2 separate regions of the Homo sapiens genome follow, and region 1 is linked to region 2. Evidence: promoter capture Hi-C in 16 types of primary human blood cells and fetal thymus (Javierre and others, 2016). All regions are on one chromosome and are shown on one strand. Each heading gives the region's core, a stretch centred on a gene start or on the middle of the fragment in contact. The rest is flanking DNA. Distances are from core to core; before and after follow the strand shown. Region 1 overlaps SLC4A9 (solute carrier family 4 member 9). Region 2 holds the start of CD14 (CD14 molecule).

The links. Contacts are between HindIII fragments. The CHiCAGO score rates a contact against its expected background, and 5 or more counts as called.
Region 1: a fragment that was not itself captured here is called in contact with the fragment with the promoter of CD14 in region 2 in 1 of 17 cell types (endothelial precursors); the score reaches 5.7 in endothelial precursors.

Annotation. Positions count from the first base shown.
Region 1 is chr5:140,360,427-140,366,899 of GRCh38, forward strand. It overlaps SLC4A9 (solute carrier family 4 member 9), which reads left to right. Exons shown (of 22, transcript NM_031467.3): 1 at 1-40; 2 at 386-546; 3 at 828-941; 4 at 1,382-1,437; 5 at 1,591-1,748; 6 at 2,019-2,106; 7 at 2,486-2,640; 8 at 3,013-3,129; 9 at 3,302-3,476; 10 at 3,628-3,761; 11 at 3,937-4,199; 12 at 5,094-5,152; 13 at 5,408-5,596; 14 at 5,725-5,838. Among named protein-coding and RNA genes, the nearest start is that of SLC4A9, 3.5 kb to the left of the region's middle. RefSeq lists enhancers at 2,629-2,778, 2,649-3,194. The HindIII fragment of the contact is 1,694 bases long and covers 3,570-5,263 here.
Region 2 is chr5:140,629,827-140,635,994 of GRCh38, forward strand. CD14 (CD14 molecule) reads right to left here and starts at 3,349. Exons shown (of 2, transcript NM_000591.4): 1 at 3,243-3,349; 2 at 1,906-3,154. The coding sequence starts at 3,245. The coding sequence ends at 2,030. It also overlaps a transcript of TMCO6 not described here. RefSeq lists enhancers at 1,992-2,493, 2,222-2,281, 2,494-2,993. The HindIII fragment of the contact is 16,691 bases long and covers 1-6,168 here.

The sequences.
Region 1 (6,473 bases), core at 3,167-5,666, 270 kb before region 2:
TGGGCTGGCCCCAGGCGCTGGAGTGGAGAGAGACAGGCAGGTAAGTTGGATGCAGGCCAGTTCTGTGGGATCCTTCCCCTTCCCCAGCTGGAGCCTCCTATATGTCCCCCAGCGCTTCTTATGGGGCTGCCCAAAATTAGGATTTTCCCAGCTGTGTTCCCTTATTTCAGGGTCTTACCTTCCATGATGCCCAGCCTCCTCTGCAGTCTAGTTTTGAGATCCCCAAGACCCTAGATGAGGGGTGACTGCCAGGGTGGGGGGGAGACTTCACACCACTGGGCCCAGGATGCCCTCATTGCCTTGCCTTCCCTAGCTCCTCTGCATCTCTGCTCCTGGACATGGGAGAAATGCCCTCAATAACACTGTCTACCCACCTTCATCACAGGTGGGTACTGTTTGAGGAGAAGTTGGAGGTGGCTGCAGGCCGGTGGAGTGCCCCCCACGTGCCCACCCTGGCACTGCCCAGCCTCCAGAAGCTCCGCAGCCTGCTGGCCGAGGGCCTTGTACTGCTGGACTGCCCAGCTCAGAGCCTCCTGGAGCTCGTGGGTAGGCTGGGATCCTTTGCAGGAAGGGCCTGGGTAGCCATGCCTTTTCCCCAGGATTTCCCCTCCAAAGTCTTGAAATCTTCCAGAGCCCATCCCTACCCCTCCTAGGATTGTCTACCCTTGTCACAGGGTGGACATGGAAAAGCAGGGTGGAGGAGCAAGTTCATTGGCCCTGGCATTCTGAGACTCCCAGAAGGGAAAGGTGTCTGGGCAGAGGGAGAAGGGGAAGAGTGTGCGGCAGGGAACTCTCAGGAAGGAGATGACCCCCAATCCATTCTCCAGAGCAGGTGACCAGGGTGGAGTCGCTGAGCCCAGAGCTGAGAGGGCAGTTGCAGGCCTTGCTGCTGCAGAGACCCCAGCATTACAACCAGACCACAGGCACCAGGCCCTGCTGGGGTGAGAGCCCCTCCCTGGGCCCAGGACCAAGACCCTGGTGTGGCAGGGTCTCAGATCTCCCCTGCACCTTCCAGGGCTAGAAGTAGCCCAGGCTTAGTTCAGGCTCCAACCCAGGACTCATGAGCAAGAGGAAACTGGTGGTAATGTTGTGGGGAGAAGATTCAGGGGGCTAGAATCGTAAGAGAGTTCTGTGAAGACATGTACTTGGTAGGCACTAGGCCTACCATTTGATCTTCACAGTATCTCATTTGATCTTCACAACCACCCTGTAAATAGTACCACAATTATCCCCATTTTAGTGGTGAGAAAACTGTGGCTCAGAGTGGAGAAGGGTATACTCTAATTCTTACAGCTTGTCAGTGGCAAAAGTGATTAGGGAATCCTGGTGGATCCACCCCCAAAGCCTGTGGTCTTAATCACTGCATAATCCTGTTTTGTAGGCTCTACTCATCCAAGAAAGGCTTCTGACAATGAGGAAGCCCCCCTGAGGGAACAGGTTTGTGGCCCTTCCTTGGGGTCCCTTTCCAGTGGCTGGGAGAGGGGTTAGAAATTAACAAAAGTCTACTCTCCACTGGATTTCTCATCATTTGAGATCTTATCCTCCCCAAATAACCTTTCATATTCTGTGTCTCCTTGAACCCCCATCCAGTGTCAGAACCCCCTGAGACAGAAGCTACCTCCAGGAGCTGAGGCAGGGACTGTGCTGGCAGGGGAGCTGGGCTTCCTGGCACAGCCACTGGGAGCCTTTGTTCGACTGCGGAACCCTGTGGTACTGGGGTCCCTTACTGAGGTGTCCCTCCCAAGCAGGTGAGGCTACTGAGTGAGTGGGAGTCAGGGATCCCAGAACCTAGAAGGGTCTTTACTGAGGAGGGGAAGGAGGGTCTCAGTCTGATTCTCTGAGGCTGTGGGGAGGATGGTGCTCAGGGGTCTGGGGAGAGAGTAGTGGTCAGGGCTGCATGGTAGGTGTGCAAATGAGTGTGTTTATGGGAGCTGATAGGTCAGAGCTGAGCATCAGAGGCCAGGGCTGCCCTGTGGGAAAGCAGCCTGTGAATCTCTGGGGCCTGGTTCCTTCCTCAGGTTTTTCTGCCTTCTCCTGGGCCCCTGTATGCTGGGAAAGGGCTACCATGAGATGGGACGGGCAGCAGCTGTCCTCCTCAGTGACCCGGTGAGCTGAGCAGGTGTGTGTGTGTGCGCGCGCACGCGTGCATGCCTGTGTGTGTGTGCACACATGCATACATGCATGGGCTCATGTGAGTGTGTGTGTGTGGACTCTGTATGTGTCCCTAAATACAGCAATGAGGCACAGTGAGCACTGAGACTGAAGTTTCCTCGTCTCCTAGTGCAGCCCCATTACTGGATGAGTGCTGGCACACTGTAGGCACTCAATAGATACCCACTGAATGAATGAATTAATGCATGCATAAAGGAATGTGTGAATGACTTGTCTGCCTCTGTGACTTGTGTCTGTCTAGTTTTGAGACTATGAAAATGCATGTAAGAGACCAGGTTTGCACTTACCACCCATTCTGTGCCCCCATTCCCAGCAATTCCAGTGGTCAGTTCGTCGGGCCAGCAACCTTCATGACCTTCTGGCAGCCCTGGATGCATTCCTAGAGGAGGTGACAGTGCTTCCCCCAGGTCGGTGGGACCCAACAGCCCGGATTCCCCCGCCCAAATGTCTGCCATCTCAGCACAAAAGGTACCTGGGAGCCATCATCCCATACAGATTCCTGCCCATATAGGCCCTGGGTCTAATTCCATTGTTGAGGAGGGGTGGTGTCCCAGGAAAGAGATAGGGACCTATCTTTGGATTTGGAGTCAGGCAGACCTAACTCTGAGTTCTGCTGGACTACTCTCTCGCTAAGAGACCTGAACAAAGACCTTCCCTGCCCGAGCCTGGCTTTCACAGGTCGCAATATGACCTGGACCTTCTAGAGGCCCAGGTGTCGCCATGGTTCCCTCGCCGGCAGAGACAAGAGCAGCCGCTAGGGGGCAGGGCGCCACGAGCTCTGGACCGAGTCGCAGACTGGTTGGAGATCCTCAGCCAACCTGGGGTTCCCCTCCTCCTCAGGCTTCCCTCGCAACAGCGGGAGATCAGAGGTCCCGCCGTCCCGCGCCTGACCTCGGCTGAGGACAGGCACCGCCATGGGCCACACGCACACAGCCCGGAGTTGCAGCGGACCGGCAGGTGAGGCGAGCTGGGAGGAAACAAGGGTAGGTGACCTGGGGGAGGGGAGGAGTCACAGGGAAACTGAGGTGTGTGCTCACTGTGGGAGGGGCTCACCCGGTCACAGGGAAAGTAGCGGGGATGCGGGTGTGGAGTGTGAAAACCTGGATCACTGACGACCCTCGGGCGGGAGGCTGTTTGGGGGCCTTATCCAGGACGTGCGCAGGAAGGTCCCGTGGTACCCCAGCGATTTCTTGGACGCCCTGCATCTCCAGTGCTTCTCGGCCGTACTCTACATTTACCTGGCCACTGTCACTAATGCCATCACTTTTGGGGGTCTGCTGGGAGATGCCACTGATGGTGCCCAGGTGGGTAGGGCCCAGGGGGCAGGCACAAGCGTTGGTGTCCCCTAGTCCATCCCTTCCCCTGGGACTATGGGTAAGTTAAGGAGGCTCTCCCAAAGCTTCAAAGGACCCCGAGGACTTCAGGGTCCTGTGCTGAGCCCCTGTTGGCTTCCAGGGAGTGCTGGAAAGTTTCCTGGGCACAGCAGTGGCTGGAGCTGCCTTCTGCCTGATGGCAGGCCAGCCCCTCACCATTCTGAGCAGCACGGGGCCAGTGCTGGTCTTTGAGCGCCTGCTCTTCTCTTTCAGCAGGTAGGAGAGCTCCCCCCATCACCGGACCCTCACTAGTGCCATGGTCAGCCTGCTCCTGGCTGGGTGAATAGGAGAGAGTGGGAGCTATCTGTTTGGGTTGAGGGACACCTGACCTGGGTTTAGTGGGAAGCAGACAGCCCTGCTAAGCCAGCCTTCCTGTCTCTCATCCCCACAGAGATTACAGCCTGGACTACCTGCCCTTCCGCCTATGGGTGGGCATCTGGGTGGCTACCTTTTGCCTGGTGCTGGTGGCCACAGAGGCCAGTGTGCTGGTGCGCTACTTCACCCGCTTCACTGAGGAAGGTTTCTGTGCCCTCATCAGCCTCATCTTCATCTACGATGCTGTGGGCAAAATGCTGAACTTGACCCATACCTATCCTATCCAGAAGCCTGGGTCCTCTGCCTACGGGTGCCTCTGCCAATACCCAGGCCCAGGAGGTGGGTAAGGGAAACAGGGACCTTGGTCAGGTGAAGAAGGATGTAGGGAAGGGGAGGGGCTGCACCCTTACTATCCCCCCTGGTTAAGTTCAGCAAAATGCTGCATACTTACCCAATAACTGGCAGTACTATTTACACTCTGGTTCTGAATCAATTGAGAAATAAGACAACAGAAGGCCTGATATCATCTTCCTTTCTGACAACACTGATAAAGGAACATGGGTTATATCTGTGGGTGAATGGGCTTCCTAATGATGAAGCCAAAATTGAATAGACTTACCCACCAGTCGTGGAAGCACTGGTTTGAGACTATCTTACCCCAGGGGAGTAGAGCTAAATACATACATCAAACAGGCAGCTTATACTCGAGAGAGGGGAGAGAAAGGGGCAGGGCCAGGTATGCCCAGCTTCATTTCCTGAAATCACCAATCAAATATATCACTGCTCTTCTGGGTGAGAGTGGCCGGCCAGGTGGAGAGAGGCTTGGAGTATTACACTTGCATATATCCCTCCACATGGAAGGCAACCCCAGGACTGGGAAGAAGTGGCCTCTCTATATGTTCTCCTATCAGTGCTAGGCATGAACAAGACCAGTTCTAGCCCTGGTGGAAACACACAGATTTGTATACTCCTCTATTCAGCCAACATTTGCTGAGCATCTACTGTGGCCAGGTCCAGTGCTTGGTACCAGGGATGCAGATGGGTAGAGAATTTGAGAGGATGGGGGCATGAGACAATGTCCTTCTCGCACACTTGGTAGTGATAGAGTCAGCAGACAGATGAGTCACAATTAAGAACTCTGGTTCACCTGGACCCATCAGATAAGAATTTTATGGGGCTGGAGGAGGTTCCCAGGGGAGGGAACATACATCTGAATTCTTCTCTGCTTCCCAGGAAATGAGTCTCAATGGATAAGGACAAGGCCAAAAGACAGAGACGACATTGTAAGCATGGTGAGGGACTGCTCCTGGGAGGTTCTAGGAAGGAAAGGGTGGAGACCAAGGCAGTCGGTGGTTTCTAGCTCTTCCTACCCATAGGTTAAGGAAACCTTCATAGGTGAGTAAAGCTTAGCCATTTCCTACAGCTGGGAACTTCCCATCCTGGGCCCCTGGTGTCTCTGTGGGTCCCTCCTCCCTTGAAGTTGGTCCAGGAGAGCAGGACATTTACTCCATTGCCTATAACTCCACTCCTGACCCTCCTGTGTACAGGACTTAGGCCTGATCAATGCATCCTTGCTGCCGCCACCTGAGTGCACCCGGCAGGGAGGCCACCCTCGTGGCCCTGGCTGTCATACAGTCCCAGACATTGCCTTCTTCTCCCTTCTCCTCTTCCTTACTTCTTTCTTCTTTGCTATGGCCCTCAAGTGTGTAAAGACCAGCCGCTTCTTCCCCTCTGTGGTGAGTTTCACCTTTCTTTCTGTGGGAGAGGCCTGACTCTAAGCTTTGGGTCCTATCTGTGATGGGAAGTGGTGTGGAAAAAGAGAGATGGCAGGCCTGGACCTGACTGAGTGTCCACTGTGTGCCAGGTGCGCAAAGGGCTCAGCGACTTCTCCTCAGTCCTGGCCATCCTGCTCGGCTGTGGCCTTGATGCTTTCCTGGGCCTAGCCACACCAAAGCTCATGGTACCCAGAGAGTTCAAGGTGAGAGCCAGGGAAGAGGGTTGGGGGACCAGAGGGGAAAGCAGGGCCAGCAGACCATGGGGAAGGAAAATGAATAAATCCCACACTTCTCTAAGCTTCTTTCTTCACTAATAAGCTAGAGATAGTAATAATAATGGCCTCACAGGGTTGTCATGAGGATTAAATGAAGTACTGCAGCAGACACGTGAGTACAGAGAATACACGGTAGCTATTATTACAGGGTATGGGTTAAGAGAATGGGTTCTGATCAGCCAGCCCTGGGTTTGAGTTCCAGTTCTTCCACTTCCCAGCTATGCATTAGGCAAGTTAATGCACATTTCTAAGCCTCAATTTCTTCGTCTATAAAATGGAAATAATAAAATGACAATAGTTCCTACCCCGTAGATTGTTTTGAGGTTTACAGAAGATCACAGTGGAAAGCACTTACCACATGCCTGGCACATACCAAGTCCTCAATAAATGTTAGCTATTATTGTTACGGGATTGCCCCACCCTTGGCGTGGCCCTGCCCACTCCACTACTCCTCACTCTCTTCTTCCCACCCCACGTTGCCTACCCTGATCCAGGAAAGCTGGAACTCCCTTTCCAGGGCATGACAGTGTGCAGGACAAGGCTTAGCACTGATTTCTAGACTT
Region 2 (6,168 bases), core at 2,099-4,598:
GGAGGCTGAGGCAGGAGATTTGCTTGAACCTGGGAGGTGGAGGTTGCAGTGAGCTGAGATTGCGCCATTGCACTCCAGCCTGGGCAACAAGAGTGAAACTCTGCCTCAAAAAAAAAAAAAAAAGGATAGTCAACCTGTATAACATATCAATCCTCAACAATATCTGCTCCCTTTTTTTTTTGAGACGGAGTCTCACTCTTTCGCTCAGGCTGGAGTGCAGTGGCGTGATCTTGGCTCACTGCAACCTCTGCCTCCCAGGTTCTAGTGAGCAATTCTCCTGCCTCAGCCTCCTGAGTAGCTGGGATTACAGACACATGCCACCACACCCGGCTAATTTTTGTATTTTTAGTAGAGACAGGGTTTCATCATGTTAGCCAGGGTGGACTCGATCTCTTGACCTCGTGATCCGCCCACCTCAGCCTCCCAAAGTGCTGGGATTATAGGCATGAGCCACCACACCTGGCCCAGATATATTACTCTTTAAAAAAAATTTTTTTTTTTGCAATCAGATATGTTACATCACCACTACTGCCTTAGTCAGCTCAGGCTACCGTAATAAAATACCATAGACTGGTGGCTTAACCAACAGAAATTTATATATATTCTCACAGCTATTTCTCACACATAAAAAACTATCTTTTATGTGTTCCCCCGACCCCCACTGGATTGGAATTCCCTAAGGGCATGGATGTTTCTGATTCATCTTTGTATTTCAGGCTTTAGCACAAGGCCTGAGGTGAAATGTGGTTCTGTAACCATTTGATGAAGTGTGATCAGAGCTATTCAAGGGAAGAAAAAAACTGCCTTGAGATGATTAATTCTCTGATACTAGAAATCTCTCAACTGGCTGGTTGAAGGCCCCTTGGGGACATTCCAGTGAGTGTCCAGCTAATTTAACTGTTTTCTGACATATTTTGAGTCTGGTTCTGGTAATGTCTGTAACTCTCTTATCAATGTTAATTTCCATTCCCTATTCCTATCTGTGTGGCTCTGGACATTGGCCAGAGGCAGGTGCTGGGCCTATATGCCTCCTCCCACCTTTCTCCCATGCTCCCTGTGAGGCAGGCATCTAGCTCTCTGATGGATGTGGCTGCCTCCTCATTGAAATGAAGAAGGGGCTCAGAAGAAACAGCACCTCTTGATGGCTGATGCTGTAGGTCTCTGAGCTAATGTGGACTAGAGGACAAATCCTGTTTATTCTGAAGTTTTGAAGAGTCTGAGATGCTTTCCTATTTGCCAATCAGTCAGCCTGAAAAGGTTATCTGCATATGTGTTCTAACAGAACACAGGATCTCTAATTCAGAGACCGACTGTATCTTGCGTCAGTTCCCTAGGCCCAAATTTCCCATTATGTCGGGGAGTGACACAGTGAAAGCCTCCGGGTGAAGAGAGGTTTTACAAGAGAGGAACCCTAATATTATGAAACTCAGAGCTTGTGCAGGATAGGAGGCTGTCCCTCTTCCTTGAGTGGTAAGGGAGACAGACAGAGAGGGAGAGGGAGGGTGTGTGAGTGTGTGTGTGTGTGAGAGAGAGAAAGAATAAGGAAATAAGCAAATGGCTGTGGGTTTTATTACCTTTGAAAGGGAGCAGCTGGCTCTTGGGAAGTGCATAGGAGAGGAAATATTTTGTATCTTCCAAATATCATGCAAATACCTTTTAATCCAGATGCCAATAATCTGCTCAGAAAGCCCTGACTGCACACTCATTGTTTCTCCCATGCAGCCCTAGCCAGGAGTCCTTTCCTGGCTCCTTCTATCCCCGCAGTTCTTTTCTTGAGGAGGACAGATAGGGTTTCTTAGGGAGTTAGGATGAAGAAAGCCTAAGTATGATGAATTCCCCATCCAGCACTGTGCCCAGCACATAGCAGACATCCAATAAAGGTCTGTTAAATGAATGACACGGACCCGTTGTTTAAGATTTTAATAAAGGTGGGGCAAAGGGTTGAATTGGTCGAAAAGTCCTCAACGTCCTGACGGGACTCCCCTGAAGCCAAGGCAGTTTGAGTCCATTCATTATTCTGTCTTGGATCTTAGGCAAAGCCCCGGGCCCCTTGGAGCAGCACCAGGGTTCCCGACACCCCCACCGACAGGGTCGAACGTGCACAGGCTGGGACCACGCCGGAGTTCATTGAGCCCTCGTGGGGGAGGGCAGTTCCAGGGACCAGGAAGGGATTCCCGTCCAGTGTCAGGTTATCCACCTCGGGCAGCTCGTCAGGCTGCGGCGCCCTGTTCAGTCTGTTGCAGCTGAGATCGAGCACTCTGAGCTTGGCTGGCAGTCCTTTAGGCACCTGTTCCAGCCCAGCGAACGACAGATTGAGGGAGTTCAGGGCGCTGGACCACATGCATCTCGGAGCGCTAGGGTTTACGGTGGCGCGCAGCGAGTTGTGGCTGAGGTCTAGGCTGTGGGGCTGCACACCTGCCGCCGCCAGTGCGGCGCACACGCCTGTGGGCGTCTCCATTCCTGTGTTGCGCAGCGCTAGATTCTGGATGGCCGGGAACTTGTGGGGACAGAGAGCCGCCATCAGTCCGCGTTCGCCCAGTCCAGGATTGTCAGACAGGTCTAGGCTGGTAAGGGCCGGGAAGGCGCGAACCTGTTCGCAGGAAAAGGCAGGCGAGTGTGCTTGGGCAATGCTCAGTACCTTGAGGCCTGGCTTGAGCCACTGCTGCAGCTCGGCGAGCCAAGAACGCCCTGTCGCCCACGACACGTTGCGTAGGCGCAAGCTGGAAAGTGCAAGTCCTGTGGCTTCCAGAGGCAGCGGAGGCATGGTGCCGGTTATCTTTAGGTCCTCGAGCGTCAGTTCCTTGAGGCGGGAGTACGCTAGCACACGCAGGGCGCCTACCAGTAGCTGAGCAGGAACCTGTGCGGCTCCCACTGTGAGCCGCCGCACGCGGAGAGCCTTGACCGTGTCAGCATACTGCCGCGGGTCGGCGTCCGCATCGACGCGCTTTAGAAACGGCTCTAGGTTGAGACCGCCGGCATGGATCTCCACCTCTACTGCAGACACACACTGGAAGGCTTCGGACCAGTCGGGCTGAGGTTCGGAGAAGTTGCAGACGCAGCGGAAATCTTCATCGTCCAGCTCACAAGGTTCTGGCGTGGTCGCAGAGACGTGCACCAGCGGCAGCAGCAGCAGCAACAAGCAGGACGCGCGCTCCTGGGGAGAGAGCAGAGGTCTAGGAGGCCCCATCCAACCCCTGTGGCTCCCGAGTGGCACGCGTTCGACCCCAAGACCCTACACTCACCATGGTCGATAAGTCTTCCGAACCTCTGAGCTCCGGACAGGCTCTGGAAGTGCTTTAGCTTCTTTCCTACACAGCGGCACCCGCCGGCTTCCAGGCTTCACACTTGTGAACTCTTCGGCTGCCTCTGACAGTTTATGTAATCCTGGGATGTCATTCAGTTCCCTCCTCTGTGAACCCTGATCACCTCCCCACCTCTCTTCCTCCGAGCCAGCCCCCTTCCTTTCCTGGAAATATTGCAATGAAGGATGTTTCAGGGAGGGGGACCGTAACAGGAAGGATTCTGCAGGGCATCTAGGGTTCTGTGTCTCCTGGCAGTGTCCTGATGACTCAGGCGCCCCAGGCGGTGAATGCCCTGTTGACTCGGGAGCCTAAGCCTTCTCTGGTGGGTGTGGGAAAAGGATGATCCTCAGTGCCTTAGGCCAGTACCATACTCTGCACTATCCAACCCCCCAATCCCCCTACCTTATATCCCAGAGAATCTACTTGATTCATTTCTTTGACTTCTTCCTTGTCTTGGTTTATGTTGATCTCCTGCCACCAAATCCAAGTCCCTGAATATCCTCAGATATTTAACTGCATGTTTTGTGGAAGAGATTGTGAACCTCATCTGTTGGCACCAAGGGGGGTAGAATTAGGTTCAAGAAAAGGAAGTTGGTCTAAAGAAAAATTCCCCCTTCCTTTTTTTTTCCTTGCTCCTTTGATTAAGTAATAACTTTCTTTCTTTTTTTTTTTTTTTTTTGAGATAGAGTCTTGCTCTGTTGCTCAGGCTGGAGTAGAGTGCCATGATCTCGGCTCACTGCAACCTCCGCCTCCTGGGTTCAAGCAATTCTCTGCCTCAGCCTCCCGAGTAGCTGGGATTACAAGTGCCCACCACCACACCCAGCTAATTTTTGTATTTTTTAGTAGAGACAGGTTTTCATCATCTTGGCCAGGCTGGTCTTGAACTCCTGACCTTGTGATCCACCCGCCTCGGCCTCCCAAAGTGCTGGGATTACAGGCGTGAGCCACTGTGCCTGGCAGTACTAACTTTCTTAAAAGTGGATGTATTTAACAGAGACACATTGGCCAAGTCTCTGGGTCACTTACACTATCCATTTTCTGTCCTGAAATTGTGAAGCAAGGTATTTTGAATCAGTTTTCCCACTTGCACGTTGCTCTCTCCTGCCCTCCCCTCAGTACAATCTCTGTGCCCTAGGAAGGAAGGGATGGGACTATGTTGAATGAGGATTAATTAGTAACTCACCAGTTTCGCAAAAAACAGACAAAAACAGAAAACAAAACAAAATGAAAAAAACAGCAAACAAAACAAAACAAAAAAACAACAAATGTCCCAGAGAATAAGGAGCTACGCATTTACAACAGCCCTCACAGGTCCACATCCCTAGACCTCTGGGGAAAGAACTATATGAAAGTCTTTTTTTTTTTTTTTTTTTTTGAGACTGAGTTTGGCTCTGTTGCCCAGGCTGGAGTGCAGTGGCGTGATCTTGGCTCACTGCAACCTCCGCCTCCCAAGTTCAAGCAATTCTCTTGCCTCAGATTCCTGAGTAGCTGGGATTACAGGAGCCCACCACCATGCCCGGCTAATTTTTGTAGTTTTAGTAGAGACAGAGTTTCACTATGTTGACCAGGCACTCCTGACCTCAGGTGATCCGCCCGCCTTGGCCTCTCAAAGTGCTGGGATTACAGGCGAGAGCCACCACACCCGGCCTGAAAGTCTTTTTTACTTTTATTTATTTATTTGAGACGGAGTTTTGTTCTTGTTGCCCAGGCTGGGCGCGATCTCAGCTCACTGCAATCTCCGCCTCCCAGGTTCCAGCAATTCTCCTGCCTCAGCTTCCCGAGCGGCTGGGATTACAGGCATGTGCCACTACACCCGGCTAATTTTGTATTTTTAGTAGAGATGGGGTTTCTCCATGTTGGTCAGGCTGGTCTCGAACTCCCGACCTCAGGTGATTCACCTGCCTCGGCCTCCCAAAGTGCTGGGATTACAGGCATGAGCCACCGTGCCCGGCAGAAAGTCTTTTTTAAATTCCCACTTCCTCTTTAATTGAGAAAGAAGTAGCTGCAGATTTGTCCCCAATCCAAACAAGAAGGCTCATCACTGCCCCCTGCGGGTCCTGTTGGGCATACCCCAATGCACTGGGCCATGCCCTGGTGCCATGCCAGGCCTCTGTGATATCCCTGAGGACCAAGATATGATTATATCTGACTCAAAGTCAGATAGCCAGTCTTGGAATCCCAGCTTTACGACTGAGGTTATGAGACTTGGGCCTCCCTTCTGTAAAATGGAGATGATAGTATTACCTGTTTGTGAGTAAAGTCTTTGGCACAGAAACACATCTTTTTAGTGTGGTCTTGATGACTAGTCTTCTTTCTCAGAGTCTCTGCTTTCAGAGAACTCAGGCCACTGAAGTCTGACACCTCATCATCTTAGGGGAGGCACTCTGGGTGGGGAGTTCCAAGTTAAGAGGGGCAGTGATGGTTCTGCAAAGATCTCCAACTCACAGCTTGATTCAACAAATGTCTATCATTTGTCTACCGAGTACTAGGGTTGGTAGAAAGCCCTGGGACACAGACATGACAAAGACAAGTCCCTGAAGTGCTCCAGGAGGTGGGTAGAGCAAACATGAACCCAGAACTTCCGTCCATAGTGCAGAGGGCTCTTAAAAGAAGAGAAACCAAAGGCTTGTGTTGTTGGGGGAGAGGGGTGGAGGGGAGGAACATGGTCTGGAGAAAGGAACAGCCAGCCCTGTACAAGACAGGACATGGGGCTGGTTCTTACAGGGTTAACAGTGTTGCTAGACAGGTAGATACAGAAAGGCAATTTGGGCAGCTGTAGCTGTCTGAGCAGACACTGGGCAGAATATAGCTTTTGGCTGGGAACTTTTTTCATCTTCCCCACCTGGAGCACATGTGGGTTTTGTTG